Linked DNA regions of Homo sapiens: all the other regions are linked to region 1. Evidence: promoter capture Hi-C in 16 types of primary human blood cells and fetal thymus (Javierre and others, 2016). All regions are on one chromosome and are shown on one strand. The core of a region is centred on a gene start or on the middle of the fragment in contact, and the rest is flanking DNA. Distances in the headings are between cores, read along the strand shown. Region 1 holds the start of DGCR2 (DiGeorge syndrome critical region gene 2). Region 2 overlaps CDC45 (cell division cycle 45). Region 3 overlaps UFD1 (ubiquitin recognition factor in ER associated degradation 1). Region 4 overlaps HIRA (histone cell cycle regulator).

Region 1 (3,504 bases), core at 612-3,111:
TGAAAAGGCTGGCAAGGAAAAAGGAGTCGGGGACGTCAGTCACCTCTATCACCCAGGCAGGAGATGCTGGGCCTGGAACCAGAGGCACCCCAAAGAAGCCAGGCATAATATGGCCTCACCTGAGCCCGGTGACCTCATCTGCAAAACTGGGACTCAAGAATCAGAAAACGGTGACCTTCTACCTCTCTACACGTACATATATGTTTTCTAAAGAAGTTAATCACAAGAATCCACAAACCCATTGGTTCTGACCTCCAAGAGCCTATATGATACCCTCCTCCACAGGTAGCCCTTTTCCTGGCTTCTGTTCTTACCAAGGCCACCCCACAACTAGTCATCCCGCTGCCCAGAGAGCAGCCAAAAGCAGTGAGCAACTAGCTCTACATGGGGAGACCAGAGAAGCATCACTGAATCTGTCCAGGTTGAGCACCGGTCAGGGCCTTGGCCACCAGGCAGGCACTAGGGAGGAGGCAGACATTCCACATAGATGACACAAGCGCAGAGCCAAGAGGTGCGGTGTATCTGGGCTGGGAGCCTGGCTAGGGCACAGGAGAGGGCCACACACCCCGTGCTCCCACACCCAGGTCATCAGAGAAGATGGCCCTGGCACTTCTGCCTTCATGGGACCTTTCCTCCATTAAGAAATATTAAGAGTCATGCTTTTTCACTGTATTAGTATAAAGATGACTGTATTAATATACATACGAAAACATTTTATTTGACCTAAAAGTTCATTTTTTTTCTGCTGACTTTAAAAAAAAATAAAATAACATTCGAAGGCTACTAAAAGTACCGTGGGCAAGTGATACCAGGATTCCTGTGCCTGATGGATACATCGGCCCTGCATTTAGGGAGTTTGATTTTTTGGTGCAGTTCAAGGGGAGGTACACCGAAATAGGTAGAAAAGGGTCTCCTGGTTGCCACGGTTCTGATTCCCCACCACAGACTTAAGAACACACTAGCTCCGAGGGGAGTTCCAAAGCACGGACTCATTCATCACATACACGCAGCACGGCTAAGGGCCCCGCACAGTGGCGAGGTCTCTGCTCCCGGGACGCTCGCGCCGGCCACACAACGCTAGGCTGACTCCTGGTGCCTCCTCTAGGCCCGGTGGGACCTGAGGACTTCCTTAGCGCAACGTCTCACTGAATGACAGCCACAACCACCGCTGTCCAGGCGAGGAGTTTCCAGGACTGAGAGGCTGGCACTAGGCCACTGCTGGGAGGACGTCTGTGAAACCAGGTGCCCCTGAGAGCCACTGTCCCCAGCCCGACTCCGACGCTGGACTGGCGAGAGGGTGCGCCCGTGGCGTAGCTCCTGGCCGCCGCCGCTCCCGGGAAGGGCCCAGAGGCAACATCCTGGACAGCAGAGCTGCACGAAGTCCGAGGCGCCGCGAGCCCAGGTAAGCTCCAGCAGGCGTCCGCAGAGAGTGCCAGGCGGCCCGCGAGCCAGGCCCCGCCCGCCCCTGCCCCAGGCGCGGCCCCTGCAGGAGGGCGCCGCGGGTGAAAGGAGGTCCCGGGGCGACCCCGGCCCCGCTCGCCGCCCAGCCCCCACACCGCCCCCATCGCGCGGCGCACCTGGCCGCAGCGGCTCGGTGACAGTGAGCACGAGCAGGAAGAGCAGCAGGAAGGCGCCGCTGTCTGCCTTGGGCACCATTTATCCTCCGTTCATCGTCCCCGGGGCGGCTGGAAGGCCGGACCAGGCCGGACTGAGGGTCAGGGGACCGTGCCAAGCGGAGGGTCAGGCGGAGCTGAACCTGGGCGAGGCGCGGAGAGGCGGCGGGAAAGAGCTTCGGCTGGGCCGCGGGCTGGCGCACACTCTCGGCTGCAACCTCAGGCACCGACTCCAGCTGCGCGCAAGATGGCGGCCGTCCTGCTCGGCTCCGCGCCGCGCCGCCCCGCCCCGCCTCCCGCCCGCGACGCAGGCGCGGGCCAATGACCGTCAAGATGGGGGGCGGGGCCAGAGCCAAAGCCCTCCGAAGAGGGTGAGGCCTAAGGTCGCGACGGCGGAGGGCGGGGACCTAAGGGCGGGGACTGAGGGGCGGGCTCTAAGGGAAGGGCGGGACCATACGGAGTGAGGCGTGCCATTGGTTAAGCAGAGAGGCAGGGCCGGGGCCGGGGCCTGAGCGGCGGGGCCACCGAAGGGAGTAGGGTCTCTGGACGCCGGTTAGGGACGGCGGGCGCGGGACGGCAAGGATGGACATCGAAAGGCGCGGGGCATGGGGCGGGGCGCCGAGGGGTCGCGCGGGTGGGGAGCGGAGAGAACGAAGTGGGAACCTGGCTGGGACTCCAAGGGTCTTCACACCTGCAAGCTCAGGTCCCGTGAGCAGCCCAAAAGTGCGCCCCAAAGGGGTCTTTTTAAGGCCGAACCGCTGTGGAGGAGGGAGGGCCTGCCGGTTCTGAGGGTGGGGAAAGAGGAACAGGAATGGCCTAAGAGAGTGTCAGGCAAAGAGAGACCGGGAAGGCCAGGTCCTGGAGACTGCAGCGAAGCCGGCTCCCTGGAGGACCTGCCTACACAATGGCTAGGGGAAGGCCACATGTGCAGGAAAGAAAGCTAGGCAGAGAGGAGGCTCAGCGCCCCTGCGAACAGTGCTCCAAGTGCCACTTCTCCCGTCATCACCAACAGGGTGAACCTTGGAGGGCAGTGTCGGCGAAGAGTCCAACTCTGTAAAATATTTGAAGACATTTCTTCTGAGCCAATATGTGACCAATAGCCTGGGACACAGCCCCAGGAGATCCTGACAAGTGCCCAAGGGGGTAGGGCCACAGCTTGGTTTTATACATTTTAGGGAGACAAGACATCAATCAGCACATGTAAGATATACATTGGTTCAGTCGGAAAAGGCGGGACAACTTGAAAGTGGGGGGTGGAGGGGGGCTTCTAGGTCATGCGGATTGGCAGTTGGTTCAAAGAGTTTATCTAAAGACCTGGAATCAATAAAAGGGACTGTCTACATTAAGGGGTTGTGGAGACCAAGTTTCTTAGGCAAATGAAGCCTCCAGGTATCAGGCTTCACAGAGAAAAGACTGTTAATGTTTCTTATTAAAAAGTGCCAGACTCTGCCGGGTGTGGTGGCTCACGCCTGTCATCCCAGCACTTTGGGAGGCCAAGGCGGGCGGATCACCTGAGGTCAGGAGTTCAAGATCAGCCTGGCCAACATGGTGAAACCACATCTCTACTAAAAATACAAAAGTTACCCAGGCGTGGTGGCACACGCCTGTAATCCCAGCTACTCAGGAGGCTGATGGCAGGAGAATCGCTTGAACCGGGGAGGCAGAGGTTGCAGTGAGCCAAGATCATGCCACTGCACTCCAGCCTGGGCAACAGAGTAAGACTCTGTCTCAAAAAAAAAAAAAAAAAAAAGGAAAAAAAAAAGGAAAAATAAATAAAAGGTGCCAGACTCTAGTTAATTCTCTCAGGAGAAAAGACCTTGAAAGGGATAGGGATTCTCTACAGAATGTAGATTTTCCCCACAAAAAACAGCTTTGCAGAGCGACTTCAAAA
Region 2 (3,504 bases), core at 339-2,838, 380 kb after region 1:
GTGGCCGCTTGGGCTTTGGGCTTGTCTCTGGGTCCTTCCCACTGAACAGCGAAGGCGCACCAAGCCGCAGGCAAGCAAATGCCCACAAGGGGCTCGAGGCTAGACTCACCATAATGTGTTATAGGACCAGCAGGTTTGTATGCCTGCTGTGCAGTAACAGACTTGTTACACTGAGACAGCAGAGTTTGCAGCAGAGGAAGAGTTTCATGATTGCAGGGCACCGAGTGAGAAGATGGGAGGAGATCCTCAAATCCATCTCCTTGAGGAGTTCTGGGCTGGGCTTTTTTGGTTTTGTTTGTTTGTTTGTTTTTGAGATGGAGTTTTGCTCTTGTTGCCCAGGCTGCAGTGCAATGGCGCTGTCTCGGCTCATCGCAACCTCCGCCTCCCAGATTCAAGTGATTCTCCTGCCTCACCCTCCCAAGTAGCTGGGATTACCAGTATGCAGCAACACGCCCGGCTAATTTTGTATTTGTAATAGAGACGGGGTTTCTTCATGTTGGTCAGGCTGGTCTCAAATTCCTGCCCTCAGGTGATCTGCCCACCTTGGCCTCCCAAAGTGCTGGGATTACAGGCATGAGCCACTGTGCCCGGCCTGGGCTGGGGCTTTTAAGGGGACTGGAGGGTGAGGGGCTGGAAAATTGGGAGAGTTGATTGGTGGGGCAAGGGGGATGTAATCATCAGGGTGTACAAACTGCACTCTTGGTTTAGTCAGCTCCTCGTGGGGTCCTTCGGAGCAGCTCAGTCAGTAGCTCCATCAGTATACAGGACCCAAAGGAATATCTCAAAGGGAAAACAGCATTTCCTAAGGTTCAAGTTGTGATCTACGGAGCAGTTAGGGGAACTACAATCTTGTGACAGGGTCTACATGCTTCTGAGGCAATGAGACACCAAGCAGCTACGAGGAAGCAGTCAGAGAGCACGCCGACCTAGTGACTGATGCTGATGTGCTGCGAGCTGGGTTCATTTTCATTTCTCCCCTCCCCCTGCCCTCATTAATTTTGTAAAGTTTATAGGGAACATTTCACCCACTCTGCTGTGGATCCCTGTCACTTACGGAGTCTGTCATCTTGGCTGTATGGGCTGTGGCCTCTGCGGTGCCCATTCTCAGGAGGTGTGAGACCCATGAGGACCGGAGGTGGACAAGGCTAGAGACCACACCCCCCCGCTCCATCCAATCATGTTTTCCTGGGTGCTTGGTTTCTATGCAGGCTGCATGTCCTTAGTCCCTGCATGGGAACAGCTCCTGTGGTGAGCAGGCCCCTGAGGAAGGCCTTGAGCGGGAATGGAGCCTAGGCTTAGGCTGCCTGGTAAGAGCTGGAGGGAACCAGCCGAGGCTTGTGCTACTTTTTTTTCCAGAATGAAATACGTGACTGATGTTGGTGTCCTGCAGCGCCACGTTTCCCGCCACAACCACCGGAACGAGGATGAGGAGAACACACTCTCCGTGGACTGCACACGGATCTCCTTTGAGTATGAGTATCCTTGTGGCCCAGCCTGAGGGGCACAGGCAGCACCCCTGCTCAGCAGGCCTTGTTTGCTTTGTCACCCTCTGTGGGTTCTGGCCACATCCCCAGGAGGGAAAGCAGGTGGGGCAGGAAGTTTTGGGGGAAGGGGCTGTGGTGTGCTACCCCAGCTCATCTGTGTGGCTTTGGCTTCTAAATGCCAGAGCTGAGTTTGGAAGTATCACCCTTCTCCAGCACATCCCTGTAAAGTGCTTATTGTGGGCCTGGCTCTGGACATGGTAGCAGTGCGGGCAGTGGTTCACGCAGTCAGGAAAGAAGGCAGCTGCCATGTAATCACACAGCGTGACGTGTCTTTTGAGAAGCACATGGGACATTGGTGGAGTGCTCAGAAAAGACCATGGGGAGACCACATCTCACACAGTCTCAGCCACACTCAGTGTGGCAGCTGCTGTACTGAGCACAGGAGGGGCTGGGGGACTGGCTGGGGTCAGGTGTCAGGAGGCCAGAGCAAGCCTTGTGAGCCAAGGGCAGCGGGAGGCTGTGGAGTGACCAGAGTTTGAGTCAGGGTTTTTAAAAGGTCCCTTGGCTGCCCAGTAGAGGTAGGTTGGGGGCAAGGAGATGGTCACTGCTTTCCAAGGCCACACAATAGTGGCTTGGCCCAAACTGCAGCAGTGGCTGTAAGCAGTCAGATAGCATGATGTCAGGGACGGAGCTGCCCTGTCTCTGCACTGTGATGGCTGGGAAGGAGGAAGAGTGAGGGTGGACACGTCAGTAGTCAGGTGGCCATCGGAGCCTGGGGAGCGGGGTGGAGCTGGCTGAACTCCTGGGGAGGGGAGCCGCTGTGCACTGGAGCTGGTCCCATCATGTGCGTGGCAGGGTGGGCTCACTTACCCAGGGACCATGGGAGTGTGTGACTGAGACAGGAGGGAGGGAGTCAGGGAGCTGAGGATGCTGGGGCTTGAGGAAGCTGCTGGAGTGTGGGCAGGGAGCATGGTGGTCTGAAGGCCTGGGAGTTCCCAGGAGTTGGGAGGGGCAGTGGTGGGAACTGAGCATGCCGAGGAAGCAGGCAGGACCAGGCTCTCGTCCTGTAGAGGGGAAATCCACCGTGGGGGACAGTCCACACTCACAACTGCGCTCACGGTGCCAGGGGCAGTGATGGATATGTTTAAGAAAAGGGCTGAGGAGGTCGGGCGCTGTGGCTCACGCCTGTAATCCCAGCACTCTGGGAGGCCAAGGCAAGTGGATCATGAGGTCAGGAGATCGAGACCATCCTGGCTAACACGGTGAAACCTCGTTTCTACGAAAAATACAAAAAATCAGCCAGGCATGGTGGCGGGTGCCTATAGTCCCAGCTATTCGGGAGGCTGAGGCAGGAGAATGGCGTGAATCCAGAAGGTGGAGCTTGCAGCGAGCCGAGATCGTGCCACTGCACTCCAGCCTGGGCGACAGAGCGAGACTCCGTCTCAAAAAAAAAAAACGAAAAAAGGGCTGAGGATGGGGGCGCTTCGTGGATGGGGTCCCAGTGGAGGGCTCTCCGGAGGAATGGGTTGTAGGGAGGGCTGGGCTAGGTGGAGCAGGAGGTGCAGGACGACAAGCTGGTGACGCCCAGCCTCCTACGTCATGTGTGGCCATGACTGCTCCATGTGACCACAGCACCTGGACTTTGCAGACCCCTGTGCTCCAGATTCTCTGCCTGTCAGACGGATGGTGGTCTATGCCTGTCACTTCACAGGCTCTCTGTATGGGTCAGCTTAAGCTAAGAAGGTCAAAGGGCTCCAGGTCACTCTTGGGATACCTGGTTTTGCAGGCAGGCCTGGTGAGAAAGGGCCCCGCCATCAGAGTGGCCCACCTGCTGGAGTTACGAGAGTGCTCAGGGCGGCCAGTGGGTGCTTGCATGCTCCTTGACTGCAGGCCCAGCCTCCGCCTGGTGCTCTACCAGCACTGGTCCCTCCATGACAGCCTGTGCAACACCAGCTATACCGCAGCCAGGTTCAAGCTGTGGTCTGTGCATGGACAGAAGCGGCTCCAGGAGTTCCTTGCA
Region 3 (3,504 bases), core at 602-3,101, 350 kb after region 1:
CAGGAGGAGCTGATGCCTGGCCCTCCCCATGCAGCATTTTAGAGCATACAGCACAACGGGCAGCCGAGTACCCACATGTCACAAACGGCTAGTCCAGGGCTCGGATCTAGGTCAGCAGACGAAGCCTTGGCTACAAGGAAAAAGGCCAGTACCTATTCCAGGCTGGCTCGCCCTGAAGAAGCTTGGGAGCATGGGTGGGATGGAGTCCACCAGCCAGCCCAGAAAAAGCACTGGCTCACATGCCCTCCAAGACAGCAGATGGGGTATACCTGTCACCCGCCTGCCCATGCCAGGAGCTGGAAGGCCAGCTCAGGGGAAGAGGTGGCCTGATGGCTTCACACCCCAAACCAGCTCCAGGCTACCTAAAGAGGCTTTCCAGGGGAGAAAGGGTTCAATTAGTTTCCTGGTCTAAAGCAGTCCAACAGCTTGGACAAGAGGCCACCCAAACTTCAAGTCTATGGGTTAAAGGAGAACCTTCGAGATACAGTGTATCCCCAGCATCACCACCTCCTCTTATAGGTGAGCCACAGAAGGGACTGGGGAAGTAGTCACTGCCTGACACTTCAGCTACCTAGAGTGGCTTCAGTGACCAGGTGTTCTACCGGATGAGCACAATGTGGCCTCAGGCCCTTGGGGGCACCTGCAGACAAACACAAGAATAGCAAGGGGCTGAGCAGCAAATACTGGGGAGGGCAGGTGAGCCAATCTGGGCTTTGAGGCATAAAAGCCCCCCAACAGGCCAGGTTGGGCAGGCCTAGTCAGCTGAGGTGAGGAGGCAGCATGGGAAGGCCAGGCACTAGGAGGTGCAATGGGAGTGCAGGGCTCTTGTCGGGGAGACACTGGCCAGGCCCAGACCTTGGGAAGGACCCTGGGACCCAGGCTGAAGAGGATGCCACTACCATGGCAGCATGGGCAAGGTCACCTGCTACAGCAGGAAAGAGACCTTCAGAATTTTGATTCATATTATTGTTGTTTTTTTTTTTTGAGATGGAGTCTCGCTCTGTCGCCCAGGCTGGAATGCAATGGCATGATCTCGGCTCACTGCAACCTAAGCCTCCTGGGTTTAAGCCATTCTCTTGCCTCGGTCTCCCAAGTAGCTAGGACTACAGGCACGTGCCACCACACCCGGCTAGTCTTTGTATTTTTAGTAGAGACGGGGTTTCACCATGTTGGCCAGGCTAGTCTCGAACTCCTGACCTCAAGTGATCTGCCCACTTTGGCCTTCCGAAGTGCTGGGATTAGAGGCGTGAGCCACCGTACCTGGCCAGAATTTCAATTCATATTTAATCTCAGAAAATATTAGTTAAGGCCATCCCTTCTGAACGTCTGGCGGCCACCATGATAGGGCATCAGCAGGAGAGGTGGGCTGTGCTTCAGACCACCTCCCTGGTGGCAGCCAAGCAAGCACTCCTGAGAGTTTCCAGCCCACAGCTCACTGCGGGGTCTCTCAGTATGCCTGATGTAATCCAAGCACAAAGAGAAGGACAAGCAGGTCCCTTTGTGAACTTCCCTAATGTGCCAGAGCTGGGGAGAGGAGTGAGGAGAAGAAGGAGCCAAGTGGGCCACAGCTACCTGTGTGGAACTCTCACTGCTGCAGGCTCCTCCCTACAGCACTGGCACAGTTCTGCTCACTTCTCTGAGGGGTACAGCCTTGAGGGCAGGCTCTGGTGGCTCACACGCCCTGGATATCCCAGCCCAGATCTGCAATGACATCCTTCAAGTCAACTTTCCAAAGAGAGCCTGCTTGTAAGGAAAAAGACGTCACTCCCATGGCAGCTCAGTTGAGAGATTTGGGAGACTACGTCAGAGGTAACTGAAAACATGTATGCTGTGACAGACTACTAAAAGTAGGGGAAAAGCATAAAAACCTCAAACACCCTACTTACTAGACCACCTAAAAAATACTGTTGCTCCATTATTTTTAAAAACGCCTCACCCAGGAAATCACAGATGAACAGTTCAGCTGCGCAACTATCAAAGAAAAGGCCACTCCCACAGCACAGTGGCCCACAGGTGCGTCCAGAGCCCACCAGCCCGCATAAGGCACAGTGCACTGCTCTGGATCCCTTCTCTCTCGCTGGGTCGGCTCAGGCTAAGACGCTGAGCAGGAGGAGTAGGCGGGGCCACCTGCTCCAGGGCCAGGACTCTCGAGTGCAGGAGATGTCTCTGCCTAAGTGGCTGCTCTCTAGAGACCCTGGCAGCCCCACTCACCCAGTGTGGGAGGTAGCAGATGCCCTCATCAGCCACAAACTCCAGCACGCCACAATGCGTCATGCGGTCCGAATTCTTATTGGTCAGTTTGAACAGCATGGGATAGGTAATGTTAAGTCGGCCTGAAAATAAGAGAGAGACTATGAGGCACAGCTCCTATGAAGGGACACCTGTTCGGCCCACGCCTTCCCATAGAAGGAGCCTCCCCACAATCCTGCCCTCAACCCCACACTCCTCTGGCAGATGAATCCCCCTCTGTGAGAGCACAGTGCACGGCTCAAGGAGGAACCTGGCAACTTGGTAACACAGCACTGGCATAGACTTGTGATTTTCTGAAGTCAACATTTTAAAAAGTGATGTGTTCATTCATTTATTCATAAATAATTTCAGTGCCCACCATGCCCTGGACAAAATCCCGACCTTCAAAGGTTTCTAGTTTGAAGGTAGAAACCTTCCAACAAAGAAAACCACAACCAGATGCTGCAGGTGCTGTGGGAAGAGCTGGCAGGAGGGGGCAGAGCTACTGGGCTAGGCTCCTAGAGGCCGAGTTCTTTAGGCTGGGCACTGGGCGGGCAGACCTGGGAGGAAATCCAGGCAGAGGTGGCAGCCTGAGCAAAGGCGTGGAAGGGAAGAGGAGCCCAGGCAGTTCAGAAATGGTGGATAATTAGGCAAGACAGGCTGGGGACAGGTGTGCGAGTGGTTGGGAAGGGGAGGGGCACCACACGGGGTAGAACCTAGGGCCTGGGCCCAGCGGGCAGTGTGAGCTCTCAGCAGGGTCATGACATAGGACGCCCCCTCTCTCTGATGGACCTTGAGGTGTGGGCTGAAAGCAAGGCCAGAGGCAAGTAAGCTGGACTGGTGACGTGCTGACCCAAGAGGTGCACAGGCACATAAAGGAAGGGCTGGCAAAAAGAGGCAGGAAAACCCAGGAGACACTGGGCCCCCGGGAGAAGACCGAGAAGGAACTGATGGTAGTGATGGTGTTTGCCATGTGTAAGGCCCTTGTTCAGTCTTCCCAGAACAGTCAGGTAGGTACTATCATTATCCCCTTTTATCTATGGGGAAACTAAGGCCCACAGGTTAAGTAACAGCACACAAGTGGTGAGCACACAAGACCTCACAGCACACAAGTGGTGATGCCAGGATTCAAACCAAGGCTGCTGGCTTAAGTCCAGGGATTCAACCATCAAAGCAGAATTTAGCTTGTTAGTTCAGACAAATATTCCAATAAAAATCACACTTAGTGTTAGGAAGTAACGCAGATTCCATTTGAGATCTCCCTAAAAATTCTAA
Region 4 (3,504 bases), core at 316-2,815, 290 kb after region 1:
ACACAGCTGTAACTCCAGACATCTCCCTATTGCATGGATCTGCACTTGACTGGCAGCCTAGACAGAAGGACTGCTATTTGTCTTTTCTGGCTGACAGCTGAGCAGGACCAGCGCTGGCTGCAACCAAGGAGCATTGCTTCGCTTGTCATACTTCTGCTTCCAAACAGCCCTCTTTTGTTTGTGCTGTGAAGTTCCCATACCGTCTGCCATCTCAGCATCTCCTCTGGCTGAACCTCCTTCACAGTTTGTACTCTATGTTAAATTAGCTGTTCAATTCCTCCAGGAGAAAGGACTGTGGCTATTAGTTCTTAGAAGCCCCAAAGAGCCCAGTATGGGCCTAGGCTTGCACTAGGATCCCATGAAGCTAGCTGGCTGGCTGGGTGGGTGGATCAGACCGGCAAAAGCACTGTAGGAGCTTGAAACCCAGCAGACCATAGAAGGCACTCACGCCTGGTGGGCATTTGTCCAGCTCCCTGCTTCTAGGACAAAGGTTTAAGAGCTACAAGTGGCATGTCAGTTGCTGTTGAGTTCATCACATCTTCAGCCTCTAGCACAGTACCCAGTGTACAGTAGCGCAGTAATATTTGTTCATTGACAAAGGAGATACATGACAATGATCTGAGCATCAACAATTGCTGATATAGATGGGCTGTTGCCAAGAGTCTCTTAATTGAACATGTTCTGTCTCTGTCACCCAAGAGGAGGCAATGTGGACACAGTACCAGAGTCACCAGCCCTAGAATCACTCAGCAAGTACTGGGATCAGGAGTGTGTGGGCAGGCAGTGGCTGTCTGAGAACTGTGAAGTCCTGCCAGGGCTCCCATGCAAGTGTGAAAATTAAATGCTGGTGCCCAAAAGGCACTGCCCAGCATGGGACCCAGGCAGCACCCAGCTGTGGAGAGCCGCAGCCATGTAGTCAAATCAAGCATGAACTTGAGATAAAATACACTTTCCTTCTTACTGGTCACTATGTAGTATAGGTTGAGTATCCCTTATCTGAAACACCTGGGACCCGTTTTAACCAAAGGGAAATGACAGAAGTAATGTTGCTCCAGTTCCAGGTGTAGGCCTTAAGAGTCTAGCAGTTCAACTTTGGCTCTCTGGAGAAACCTAGTTGTCATGTGAGAAGTCCAAGTACCCTGAGACCACCATGTTTTGAAGAGGCCCAAGCTGGCCACATGTAGAGCATCAAAGAGCCCGGACAAGTGAGAATCAAGGTCACAGACACAGGCCTGGTGAGGTGTTCTATCCCCAAGCTATTCGAGCCATCCCAGCAGATTCCATAGAGCCAAGATGAGCTGAACCTGCTAAGTCCTGACAAGCTGCAGAATTATGAGCAAATAATAAAACTGTTATTGGTTTAAGCCAGCAAATTTAGGGGTTTGTCATATAAGAGATAAACCAAAATGCCAATTCATTTGCTTTTCTGCTTAAGCCAGCTTGAGCTGGGCATTTGTCATTTTAACAAAAAATGTTCTAGCTGACAGCTTTGGTCTTGACGGGCAATCAGGGCGGAACATTCCCCTCCCCTTGGAGTGCTTTTCAGTTCCATAAGTCTGTGAGACATTGTATTACATCAGTCCCCTCAAGAAGCACACCAGAAACCCTTACCTGCAAGTCACAGTTCCCCTGACTACCCAAGAGCACGTACAGGCTGAGCCAGGCTGTGCTGAGGGCTCAGCTGCACAAGTAACCAATTACAGCCCATGCGCTTTAGATCATGCCCACTCACAGCATCAACTGCATGTTTTCTCACTCAGTCTCTGTTTGCAGATTTCTACTATGTGCCAGGCATTAGGCTAAGCAATGAGAAAGTAAAGATACATAATCATACAAACTCCCCTAGTAAGATGTCCACTGATGGACACTTCACAAGCAGAAAGCCACCTGACTCAGCCTCGGGCTTCCTGCAGAAATAATAACTGAATTGGGTCCCAAGGGTTGAGTAAGAGTTAGCCAGAAGATCGGGTGAAGGAGAGGGTTTTCAGGCTGAGGGGACGCACGGCATGGAATCAAGAAATAGGCTGATGTAATGTTGCAGAGCAGACTGCAGGTAGAGAGTGTGAGAAAGAAGAGGAGACAGAGATGGCTCAGCAAGCATCAGTAAGGAGCTGAGACATTTCTCTAAAGGTACTTTCAAGGCAGGGTAATGCCAAGGTCAGATTCACATTCTGGCTCCACAATAGCAGTGTGGAAAATGGGGGTGGGGGCCTCAAGGCTCCAGGGGAAGGCAGGGATGGAGGCTGGCAACAAGTTTGGGTTTTGGCATTAAACATCATGGGCTGAATCTTTAGCCCTGCCACTTACCCAGCTACAAAGCCTTGAGATTTTATTTTATTTTATTTTTATTATTTTGAGAAGGCGTGCCTGGTTCATTGGCACCAGGTTTCCTTTCCTAGTGCTATGCAGATTAGATGAAATATGGTAGGGGACCTACACAGATACCAGCGCAGTGCTGGCTCCCCGCCTCCTTACAGCACTAGGCCTTTCCATCCCAAGGAAAGCAGTCACTCACATTCCATTAGTGGGAATGAAACTATTTATTTATTTATTTATTTATTTATTTATTTATAGACAGAGTTTCGCTCTGTCGCCCAGGCTAGAGTGCAGTGGCGTGATCTCCACTCACTGCAAGCTCCGTCTCCCAGGTTCACGCCATTCTCCTGCCTCAGCCTCCTGAATAGCTGGGACTACAGGTGCCTGCTACCACGCCCAGCTAATTTTGGTATTTTTAGTAGAAACAGGGTTTCACCATGTTAGCCAGGATGGTCTCGATCTCCTGACCTCATGATCCGACCACCTCAGCCTCCCAAAGTGCTGGGATTACAGGGGTAATCCCGGCCACCGTGCCCGGCCAGGAATGAACCTCTTCTAAAGGGCTCTCTGAGGTGGAGCTAAGGAAAGGGACCTTCTGGCTGAGCTAGTTAGACAACTCTTCCTGTGGCACAGCATGATGATGACAAAGATGAGTTCCCAACTACCTCCAGTGTCTGGCCTTTCTTTGTAATAGAGACAGAAAGAAAAGACAAATTAACACACCCTAGACTCTAGAGACACCAAGCAATCACCTATCCTTAGATCAACCCCAGATCAGAATGTTGTCCCTGCACACCCAATACACAGCCAATATAGTCAGCCACTGTCTACTGTCTGGGGATTTGCTGATTTGACAAGAGCAGCACAAATGCTTTCCACCTGGCAGGGAATAAAGAATACATTAAGGAAGCTGGGATTATGACAGGGCATGCTCAGGTAGAATCGTACCCTCCTTCACACTAGGGGAAAGATTCCTAGAAGAGGACTAAACATGGGAACTTAAACTCTGAGCACAGAGAGGTGGCCAGAGGCAAAGCAGAGAGGGCACAATGGAGAGCTGCTGGCCCTTCCCTCTCAGCAGTCCCACAGACCTTTGGTTTGGCTCCAAAAAGTCTCTGGGCTTTTATGTTCTGATAGTTCATTGGGTAGAGCTGACTGGAACACATGTGCATATGTCCTTTTGGAATG

The links. Contacts are between HindIII fragments. The CHiCAGO score rates a contact against its expected background, and 5 or more counts as called.
Region 2: a fragment that was not itself captured here is called in contact with the fragment with the promoter of DGCR2 in region 1 in 1 of 17 cell types (naive B cells); the score reaches 5.0 in naive B cells.
Region 3: a fragment that was not itself captured here is called in contact with the fragment with the promoter of DGCR2 in region 1 in 1 of 17 cell types (total B cells); the score reaches 5.3 in total B cells.
Region 4: a contact is called between a fragment that was not itself captured here and the fragment with the promoter of DGCR2 in region 1, in 3 of 17 cell types (naive CD8 T cells, neutrophils and activated CD4 T cells). The highest score is 8.3, in naive CD8 T cells.

The regions. Positions count from the first base shown.
Region 1 is chr22:19,120,551-19,124,054 of GRCh38, forward strand. DGCR2 (DiGeorge syndrome critical region gene 2) reads right to left here and starts at 1,862. Exons shown (of 10, transcript NM_005137.3): 1 at 1,578-1,862. The coding sequence starts at 1,656. RefSeq lists an enhancer at 1,221-1,722 and silencers at 1,507-1,626, 1,747-2,186. The HindIII fragment of the contact is 21,190 bases long and covers 1-3,504 here.
Region 2 is chr22:19,504,006-19,507,509 of GRCh38, forward strand. CDC45 (cell division cycle 45) reads left to right here. Exons shown (of 19, transcript NM_003504.5): 10 at 1,357-1,476; 11 at 3,381-3,504. Among named protein-coding and RNA genes, the nearest start is that of CLDN5, 19 kb to the right of the region's middle. RefSeq lists enhancers at 1,866-2,366, 2,367-2,867. The HindIII fragment of the contact is 4,984 bases long and covers 1-3,504 here.
Region 3 is chr22:19,469,476-19,472,979 of GRCh38, forward strand. UFD1 (ubiquitin recognition factor in ER associated degradation 1) reads right to left here. Exons shown (of 12, transcript NM_005659.7): 4 at 2,212-2,333. Among named protein-coding and RNA genes, the nearest start is that of UFD1, 8.0 kb to the right of the region's middle. The HindIII fragment of the contact is 3,344 bases long and covers 180-3,504 here.
Region 4 is chr22:19,411,059-19,414,562 of GRCh38, forward strand. All of the region lies in intron 1 of HIRA (histone cell cycle regulator), which reads right to left. Among named protein-coding and RNA genes, the nearest start is that of HIRA, 19 kb to the right of the region's middle. The HindIII fragment of the contact is 3,879 bases long and covers 1-3,504 here.